2 separate regions of the Homo sapiens genome follow, and region 2 is linked to region 1. Evidence: promoter capture Hi-C in 16 types of primary human blood cells and fetal thymus (Javierre and others, 2016). All regions are on one chromosome and are shown on one strand. The core of a region is centred on a gene start or on the middle of the fragment in contact, and the rest is flanking DNA. Distances in the headings are between cores, read along the strand shown. Region 1 holds the start of MYO18B (myosin XVIIIB). Region 2 has its middle 36 kb from the start of MIR6817.

Region 1 (4,548 bases), core at 1,547-4,046:
GGTTGCTCCCTGAACACCAGCCGTGACAGCAGGGGCTGATCTTGGCCCAATGCTCTTGCTGCAGGGCTGTGTGTCCTTGAACAAGTGGCTTTCCCTCTCTGTGCCTCAGCTGCACCATCTCTCAACAGGAGGGGTTGGATTTGGCAGCACTCTGGAGGGGAGGGGGATCCTCCCTGGTCTCAAACCCACCTCCTCCATTTTTCAGAAAATTTAATTTCATTTTGTTTATTTTTATTTTTATTTTTATTTTTGAGACGGAGTCTCTCTCTGTCCCCAGGCTGGAGTGCAATGGCGTGATCTCGGCTCACTGCAAGCTCCACCTCCCAGGTTCATGCCATTCTCCTGCCTCAGCCTCCCAAGTAGCTGGGACTACAGGCACCCACCACCACGCCCGGCTAATTTTTTTTTGTGTTTTTAGTAGAGACGGGGTTTCACCGTGTTAGCCAGGATGGTCTCGATCTCCTGACCTCGTGATCTGCCCACCTCGGCCTCCCAAAGTGCTGGGATTAAAGGCGTGAGCCCCCGCGCCCGGCCACTTTGTTTAAATATTAAAGATATGCCACACACCACAGCAGCTGACCATGTGCTTCAAATGGGCCATTCAGACAGTTGTTTGTATCTAGCAGGACCCAGTGAAGGGCCATCTCCCCATAGCCTTGTAGGCTCACAGCCCCAGGTCCCTATCTTTTGGCAGCTGGAAGTGGTTCTGCTCAGTTTGGGGGCCCTCCATTCCCACCTCAAAATGCCATAGAAAGTCTTGATCTTACCCCTGGAGGAACACCTGCCCAATAAAATCTTTGCGATAGTTAGACCCTAATAAAGTGCTGTGCACGTTTTCCATGTTTGTGAAACATGGAAATTCCATGAGTTTTGACAGGGCAGGTGCTGAGCAACAGCCTTCTGTGGTTTTGTTAGCTCAAGTGAAAGGAAAAGCTCTTCTCCAATTTGGGTGGGCACCAGAACCACCTGTGAGGTTTAAAATCTGTGGATTTCTGGGCCCCTTCCCCCAAGACTGTTCAAAAGGTCTAGGATGAACCCAGGAATCTGCATTTTAAAACAGCCCCCCGCCTCCTGCCCCACATGAGTCTGATGGGTAGGTCGTCAACGACCGTCACTTCAAGAAAAACCTTCCTGGATGCTGAATCCTAGGAAAGATCCCAGAGGTGGTCTAGCCCAACCCCCTCAGGTTTTAGAAGGAGAAACTAAGTTCCGACTGGGGAGAGTACTCATCCAAGGTTACAGAGCCCACACCAGGATATTCAAGGTGACCAGGCCTGGAGGCAGGTGACATCAAATATTTGTTGATTGGTAACATGCAGCCCTTCAAAAGCCAGGAGACCAGGAGACTCCCTCTCCTCCTCCTCTTCCTCCTTCTCCTCCCTCCTCCACCCACTTGGCCTTTTCTTTTGGCCTTTTCCTTTGCTATTATTCTTCTCCTCCTTCTTCTCTTTCTCCTCCTGCTTTTTTCCTCCTCCTCCTTCTCTTCTTCTCCTTCTCCTCCTCCTCTTCCTTCTTTTCTCTCTCTCCTCTCCACTATTATTTTCTAGAACTCATCCATAGCCTAAGAGTATATAGACCCCTCTCTTTTCTGCTCCCAAGGTACACACTGGACATGGTACCCAGGCATAGGAGAATACAACTTAGGTCAGCAATGGATACAGCACCCAAGGCCACCATTATCCTTGTTGGAGTCTAGAAGCCCTAGTGGGACACTCAGCCTCCATGAGCTGGTGCACTGAATGAGGCAGCATCTTTTTGGACAGCCACAAAGTGAAAGTAACAGCCTCGTCGTATTCCAGGCCCTACAGGATAGAAGCCCAGATCCCCACACTTGCGGGTTGAGGCCAGACTGGACAGCTTGGAGCCGACTGGGAGCCGACTGGGCTCCCCATTCCGGGCCTCCCCACTCCTGGCCTCCTCCATGGAAAAGCTGCAGGAAGGCAGCAGCCCAGAGGCCTGTAGCTGGTGAGGTCTTCTCCTCTCCTGGGAGAGAGCTCCATGTCAAAGCATAGCCCCCTTCTGCCCCACTATGGGGCCACTGGGACCTGTGAATCTTCTTCATTCAGAGAAATGCCTGCTATCCGGGGTGCCAGATAAGACACCTTCCCTCAGACAGAGCTCAAGGAAGGTGGCATGAAATTGAAACCTTCAGCCATGAACTTCCATTGCCCTTCCCCCAACACTCATACATGCTTAATTTGCAGTTTAAAAAAGAACATTAAAATTAACATTTCGACTCAACAGCGTTGTTAACACGAAAGGGGAAGCCTGGCTCTTCCCCGACCATAACTGAACACCAGTGAAGCAGAAATTACTGGTAGTTGAGGAAAAATATAAACCCTGACGTCTGCGGGCAAAGATTCACAGTGGAGATTAACTCATGATTCTAAACACATTTTTAAAAATTATTAGCGAACAGCTGGGGCCTGAGGAGAGTGATTCTTACGAATGTCCATTTGCCCCAGCATTTTGTTCTCAAATCCTTCCACCGAAACACTCTTGTTTTCAAAGTGAGCAGCACGGGCAACAGGCAAAGGAATCAGGCCTCGGAAGCTCTCAACACCAGAAAGGCCTAAAATAGACCAAAAGACCGGAGGCCTGCCACCGCAGCCCCCAGCAGCGCATTCCGGAAAATTAAAACTCGCCGATCCGCTCGCAAGGTGCCCGTCTAAAACCCAGCCCAATAGTACCTTCTGCAAAGAGGACACAGATCACAGGAACCACGACTGTCTAAGACGTCTCCCCGGGTGGCCGCGAAGGGACCCCACCGAGCCGGGAAAGCAGGAGCGAAGGAGCACCCTCTCCACACACACCGACACACATCCCTTCCCCTTACTGCCCCTCCCCGACCCGTCCTCCCCCCACCCTCCTTCTGGGCCAATGTGATAGCAGCAGCTGAGTCGACCAGTCATTTCTAAAATTAGCTTGTGAGCTCCAGGTCTGGCCAGGAGACGGCAGCCCGGGGTGGCCGTTGACCAGGCAGCAGAGACCATGGACATATTTGGTGGCCCCTGAGCAGGGAAGGGGACAGCTCTGGACACAAGCACATGCTCTCTCGTCATCCCTGTCCCAGGGCAGGGCCACACACCCACACTCCCGCCTCTGCCCACACAGATAACCAGAGGTTGCAGGAACTGTTTGAGGAGGAGAGCTGGCCGGTTCTACATTCCAGGCAGACTCTGGAAGAAAATAACTTGAATGAATGCTGGTGCGTCGTGGTAAACAACCAGTGCATGTAAACATACCTTATGCTTAGGTAGTGGTTATCGCATGCCACACACCGAGGGCTTTCATGAACTCACTTAATGTTCCCTATGAGGTAGGGTTTTTCCCCAGCCCCACTTTACAAGTGGGGAAATTGAGACACAAAAAGTTAACCAACTTGCCCAAGGCCATGGAGAGCCAGAATTCAAACCCAGGCTGTGCGGGCCGTAGAGGAAACAGACACAACAGCAAACTAGGGGCTATAAAAAAGTGCTTTGGGCCTGGCACGGTGGCTCACGTCTGTAATCCCGGCACTTTGGGAAGCCGAGGTGGGCATATCACGAGGTCAGGAGATTGAGACCATCCTGGCTAACACAGTGAAACCCCGTCTCTACTAAAAATACAAAAACAAAATTAGCCGGGCGTGGTGGTGGGCGCCTGTAGTCCCAGCTACAGGCGGAGCTTGCAGTAAGCCGAGATCGCGCCACTGCACTCCAGCCTGGGTGACAGAGAGAGACTCCATCTCAAAAAAAAAAAAAAAAATCAGCTGGGTGGGGTAGTGGTTGTCTGTGATCCCAGCTACTTGGGAGGCTGAGGCAGGAGAATTGCTTGAACCCAGGAGGCGGAGGTTGCAATGAGCTAAGGTCACGCCACTGCACTCTAGCCTAGGCGATAAGAGACTCTATCTCAAAAAAACAACAACAAAAAAAGTGCTTTGTCCACTGCCTAAAAGGAGCAAAGTACAGACTTCAATAAATTGGATAAACCATGCAGGTCCATGCAGCTAGCAAAGGGTAGAGTCATGACTCAAATCCAAGTCTTTCTGGTTCCAAAGACCGCAATCAGCCCAGCATGATACTGCTCCTGTGAGAATTGTTTCAATAATTGCTATGTGGTGCTGCTCCTCTTTCCCCAGAGCTCATCGAGCAATATTTTCCCAAAGTACTCACTTCTGCCGAGGTCTTGAAAATTAGCATTCAATCAGAAGTTCATTGAAACACTAAGGGAAGGCTGCTTAGAAAATGGCAGTCTAGGCCGGGTATGGTGGCTCACACCTGTAATCCCAGCACTTTGGGAGGCTAAGGCGGGTGGATCATTTGAGGTCAGGAGTTTGAGACCAGCCTAGCCAACATGGTGAAACCCCACCTCTACTAAAAATACGAAAATTAGCTGGGCGTGGTGGCGGGCACCTGTAATCCCAGCAACTCGGGAGGCTGAGGCAGGAGAATAGCTGGAACCCAGGAGTCAGAGGTTGCAGTGAGCAGAGATGGCGCCATTGCACTCCAGCCTGGGCGACAAGAGCAAAACTACATTTTGAAAAAAAAAAGAAAAGAAAAGAAAGAA
Region 2 (4,386 bases), core at 1,432-3,931, 250 kb after region 1:
CCCTCCCCACTCCCCCGACAAACATCATCTCCCATGGCTTTGGACGCCCGGCGTCTCTGTATCTCTCCACAGATCTGTGTTTTTCTCTCGGGGCCATCTGTCGCTGACTCTGCTATAAATCTTGTTGTGTTTCCTTGCCATATGGCATAATTAATTACTTCAAGGCACAAAAGACCCCACAGCTCTGCAGGCCAGGAGCCAGCTGGCTCACTGAGGAGCAATTTGCCACAATGAGGCAAATAGCCGGGCTACTGTGCCCTGTCAGCCGGGTCCCACAGCAGGAACCAAGTTGGCTGGAACCCCCATTCCCTGCGGCAGCATCTGCCACTAGCTCGGCAGAGGCTGTGTCTTCAAGGTTACATGAGTGGCATTTATAGACATTAAGGCCACACACCGTCTATTGCTATAGAAGGGAGCGTGCATCTATTAACTCAACGGGGACCCCCCCCAACCTCATTTATCTTTGTCACTTAACTGCTAAGTCCAGAACAGTCTGTCTGTTCCACTTGGGCAATGGTTTATTGGACTCCCAAATCTTTGGAAAACTACTGAGGGAGAATAAAATTAAAGAACACAGCCATTGAAAGCTGAGTCCTTGAGTGGGCCCCTCCGCCTCTGAGCAGTTGGCCTCTGCATCTGCAAACAGGAAGGACTGGATGAGCACTCAGTTCCCTTCCAGCTACAGTGTGCCAGGACTCCTTCAATCAACCAACGGATATTCAATTGACAACCATCCCTGTACTGAGTGCTGGGGAAACAGTTCTGGTGAGGCAGATGTAGCCCCCTGCTCTTATGTAGCTTGCTGCTAGAAATGAGGACCACACACGAGCATGGGCACACACACAACATACACATAAATGTACCAAATTATCACAGCTGGTGGCCAACAGGATGAGGAACTGAATAAAGCAGGGGCTGAATTAAAGAACATCAGGAGGCCAGGCATGGTGGTTCACGCAGCGCTTTGGGAGACCAAGGCAGGAGACTCCTGACTCACTTGAACACAGGAGTTTGAGACTAGCCTGGGCAACACAGTGAGACTCTATCTCTAAAGAAATAAAATTAAATTTAAAAAATTAGCCAAGCATGGTGGTGTGCACCTGTACTCCCAGCTACTCAGGCCTGAGGAAGGAGGATCGCTTGAGCCCAGTAGGTTGAGGCTGCAGTGAGCTGAGATTGCACCACTGCACTATAACCTGGGTGACAGAGCAAGACCCTGTCTCAAAAAAACTTTTTAAAAGAACACCACCTTCAGAGAGAGGACTCACAGAAGGTCTCTTTGAGGGAGTGATATTTTGTTAAACAGATTTATTGAGTTATAATTCATATGCTGTAATAGTTACCCTTTTAAAGTGCAAAATTCAGTGGTTTTTAATATTTTTGCAAGGTTGTGCAATCATCACTACAATCTAATTTTAGAACATTTCATCACCCCCCAAAAAAGGCTTACACCTATTAGCAGTCACTCCCCATTCTCTCCTTCCCCCAAAGGCCCTGACAACCACTAATCTACTCTCTGTCTCTATGGATTTTCCTATTCTGGACATTTATTATGAATGGAATCATACCATATGTGGCCTTCTGAGCCTGACTTCTTTCACTTAACATAATACTTTCAAGGTTTATTCATATTGTAGCATGTATCAGAACATCAGTCCTGCCAGGTACGATGGCTCACACTTACAATCCTAGGACTTTGGGAGACAGAGTTGGGAGTTTGAGCCCAAGAGTTAAAGACTAGCCTGGACAGCAGAGCAAGACCCCCTCTCTGAAAAAAAAAAAGAGTAGCAGGGTGTGGTGGCACACACCTGTGGTCCCAGCTACTTGGGAGGCTGAGCTAGGATTGCTTGAGCCTGGGAGGTTAAGGCTACATTGAGCCATGGTCATGCCACTGCACTCCAGCCTGGGCAACAGAGCAAGACTCTGTCTCAGAAAGAGAGAAAGAGAGAAAGAGACAAAGAAAGAAGAAAAGAAAAGAAAAGAAAAGAAAAGGAAAGAAAGAAAGAAAGAAAAGAAAGAAAGTAAAAGAAAAGAAAGAAAGAGAAAGAAAGACAAAGAAAGAAAAAGAAAGAAAGAAAGAAAGAAAGAAAGAAAGAAAGAAAGACAGACAGACAGAAAGAAAGACAGAAAGAAAGAAAAGGATGTCAATCCTTTTTGATGGCCAAATAATACTGTGTTGCAAGGATATAGCACGTATATAGCATGTTTTGTGGAATCATCAATCAGTTGATGGACTCTAGGTTGTTTCCACTTTGGGATTATTATGAATAATGCTGCTATGAACACTTCTGTACAGGCTTTTGTGTGGACATGTTTGTATTTCTTGAGGGGGTGACATTTAACCTGAGATCTCAAGGGTAAGAAAGAATCAGTCATGTAAAAAGCTAGGCAAAATTCTTCTTGGCTGAGGGAACAGTACAGACAAAGGTCTGGAGATGGGCTACTATACATGTCTAGGGCCCTTTAGGTGGCTCGCAGGCTTTAGAGGAATTACAAGAGCATCTTTTTCAAGCTGCACAAATCCAATTTTCTGCCGAGGTGTGTCTAGTCTCTTCCTGAGTGTGCAATCTGAGTCAATTTAGTCTAAGGGTTTATTGTCAGCTCAGAGGAAAATTTCTTGGATTGAGCAACTTGGGGTGACTTCTGCAGGCCCCCACAATTTGCAGGAAGCCTGAGGAATCGTGGGTGGGAAAGTCGAATGGAGTGGTTCCAGGAGGCAGCATGCTTTGGAGGTAGAGGCATTCGAATGACTGACATGCATGCATTTCACTACCCCCAACTCCCATAAAACTCAGCCTGGTTGCCTGGCAGCAAATATCTTCTCTTGGCTTCTGTATTACCTTGGCTATCAGTGAGACTTTTCCCCTCAAAATGTCCTTGCATTTGTTTTTTAACTTGGCTTCCCTGGGATCAACCTGGCACTAGGAGCAAAGGGCTGGGCTGATACTTGCTTAGACGTCTGTGTGAGGGTCCTGGGAGGGTGGTTCACTGAGTGCTGCTACAGTGAGGGTATTGCAAGAGTATGTTGAGACAGCAATAAGAGGATAGATGCACCCACCTGGCAGTGGACGAAGACGGGGCTGAGAGAAGTTAGGATCCCAGAACCTAGATCAGGATCATACAGTCAAGAAGGAAAAATTTACCTCGTAAAAGTGAATTTGGGGGCTCTTTGAAGCAATCCTTAATCCAGTCAGTACACTCCTTTCCATAGTTGATACTGTTGGCTAACTCCTTCTGTCCACCCCCACCCCCAGCCAAGGGAGGCTGGGCTACAACCAAAACTCTGAACTTAGGGCCCCACAGACCTGAGTTCAAATCCTAACTCCTCAATTCCACTATGTTACTTTGCAAGAAGTGCTAACTGTTCTAAGTCTCAATTTGCTCATCATAAAATCCCATTACACAGCCTGTATTATGTAGGAATTGCTTTCAGCAACAGCAGTTCCAAATAATAATGGTATAAACAAGATATACCATGGTTATTTCCCTCATACAAAAGAAGTGTAGAAGGATGACATCCAGGGCAGTATAGAGTTTCCACACAAGACGAAGGCTCCTTGTGTCTTTCTGCTCTACCATTCTTAGCATCTCACCTTATGGTGCCTGATGGCTGCTGCAGCACCAGCCATCACATCTGCATTATAGACAGGAAAAAGGAAGGAATGGCAAAATTATTCTCACCTCTTGAGTTGAGTTTTCCTCTTTTAAGGAACTTATAAGCAATGTCTATCTAACAACTTATTTACTCCTATCCAACCCTCCTGCAAGGAAGCTAGGAAACATGCTTATATAGCCAGGGATATTGCTGAACTCAGCAGCAGAGCATGGCTGTTTTATTCAGGGAGAAGTGGAGGGTAGCAGGCAACTAAACATCTTCACAGCAAGATCTTAATTTAGTCACCTCCTCGCAGAAAGCTGCCCTGCCCACTCTATCCAAAATAGCACCCCTCACTCTAAACCACCACTCTGATATGTGTTGCATAGAATGTATCACTCTCTGAAATTATTTATCTATTAGTTTCCTTATTTAGGGATTGACTTCTCCCCTAGGATGTAAGCTCCATGAAAGAACAGCAACCATATCTGTCTTTATTCATCACTGGCTCAAGTTGGACAGCTGTGCAAATCTGTGGGTGACTGTTGAATAGTCCCTATCCCAAAGGGTGACTATGAGTCTTTAATGAGATGCTGAGGACGAAGCACTGAGCCCAGAGTCTGGCAAGAGAGGCTGGAACTGGCTAGTTGTTTCCTATGCCATTTCCCTTTTCTTCCTATCCACCTAGCCACAAGGCTGAGTTCCACCAGCCGAACGGAGGCAGGAGTGACATGGGTCACTTCCATGCCTCACCCCTGAGCCTCCTGGGACATCTTCCATGCACTTTCTTT

The links. The method cuts DNA at HindIII sites, captures the fragments that hold promoters and counts their contacts. A CHiCAGO score of 5 or more calls a contact.
Region 2: a fragment that was not itself captured here is called in contact with the fragment with the promoter of MYO18B in region 1 in 1 of 17 cell types (total B cells); the score reaches 5.6 in total B cells.

The regions. Positions count from the first base shown.
Region 1 is chr22:25,740,436-25,744,983 of GRCh38, reverse strand. It overlaps MYO18B (myosin XVIIIB), which reads right to left and starts at 2,796. Exons shown (of 44, transcript NM_032608.7): 1 at 2,691-2,796. The HindIII fragment of the contact is 14,245 bases long and covers 1-4,548 here.
Region 2 is chr22:25,489,378-25,493,763 of GRCh38, reverse strand. No RefSeq gene overlaps it. Among named protein-coding and RNA genes, the nearest start is that of MIR6817, 36 kb to the right of the region's middle. The HindIII fragment of the contact is 5,884 bases long and covers 1-4,386 here.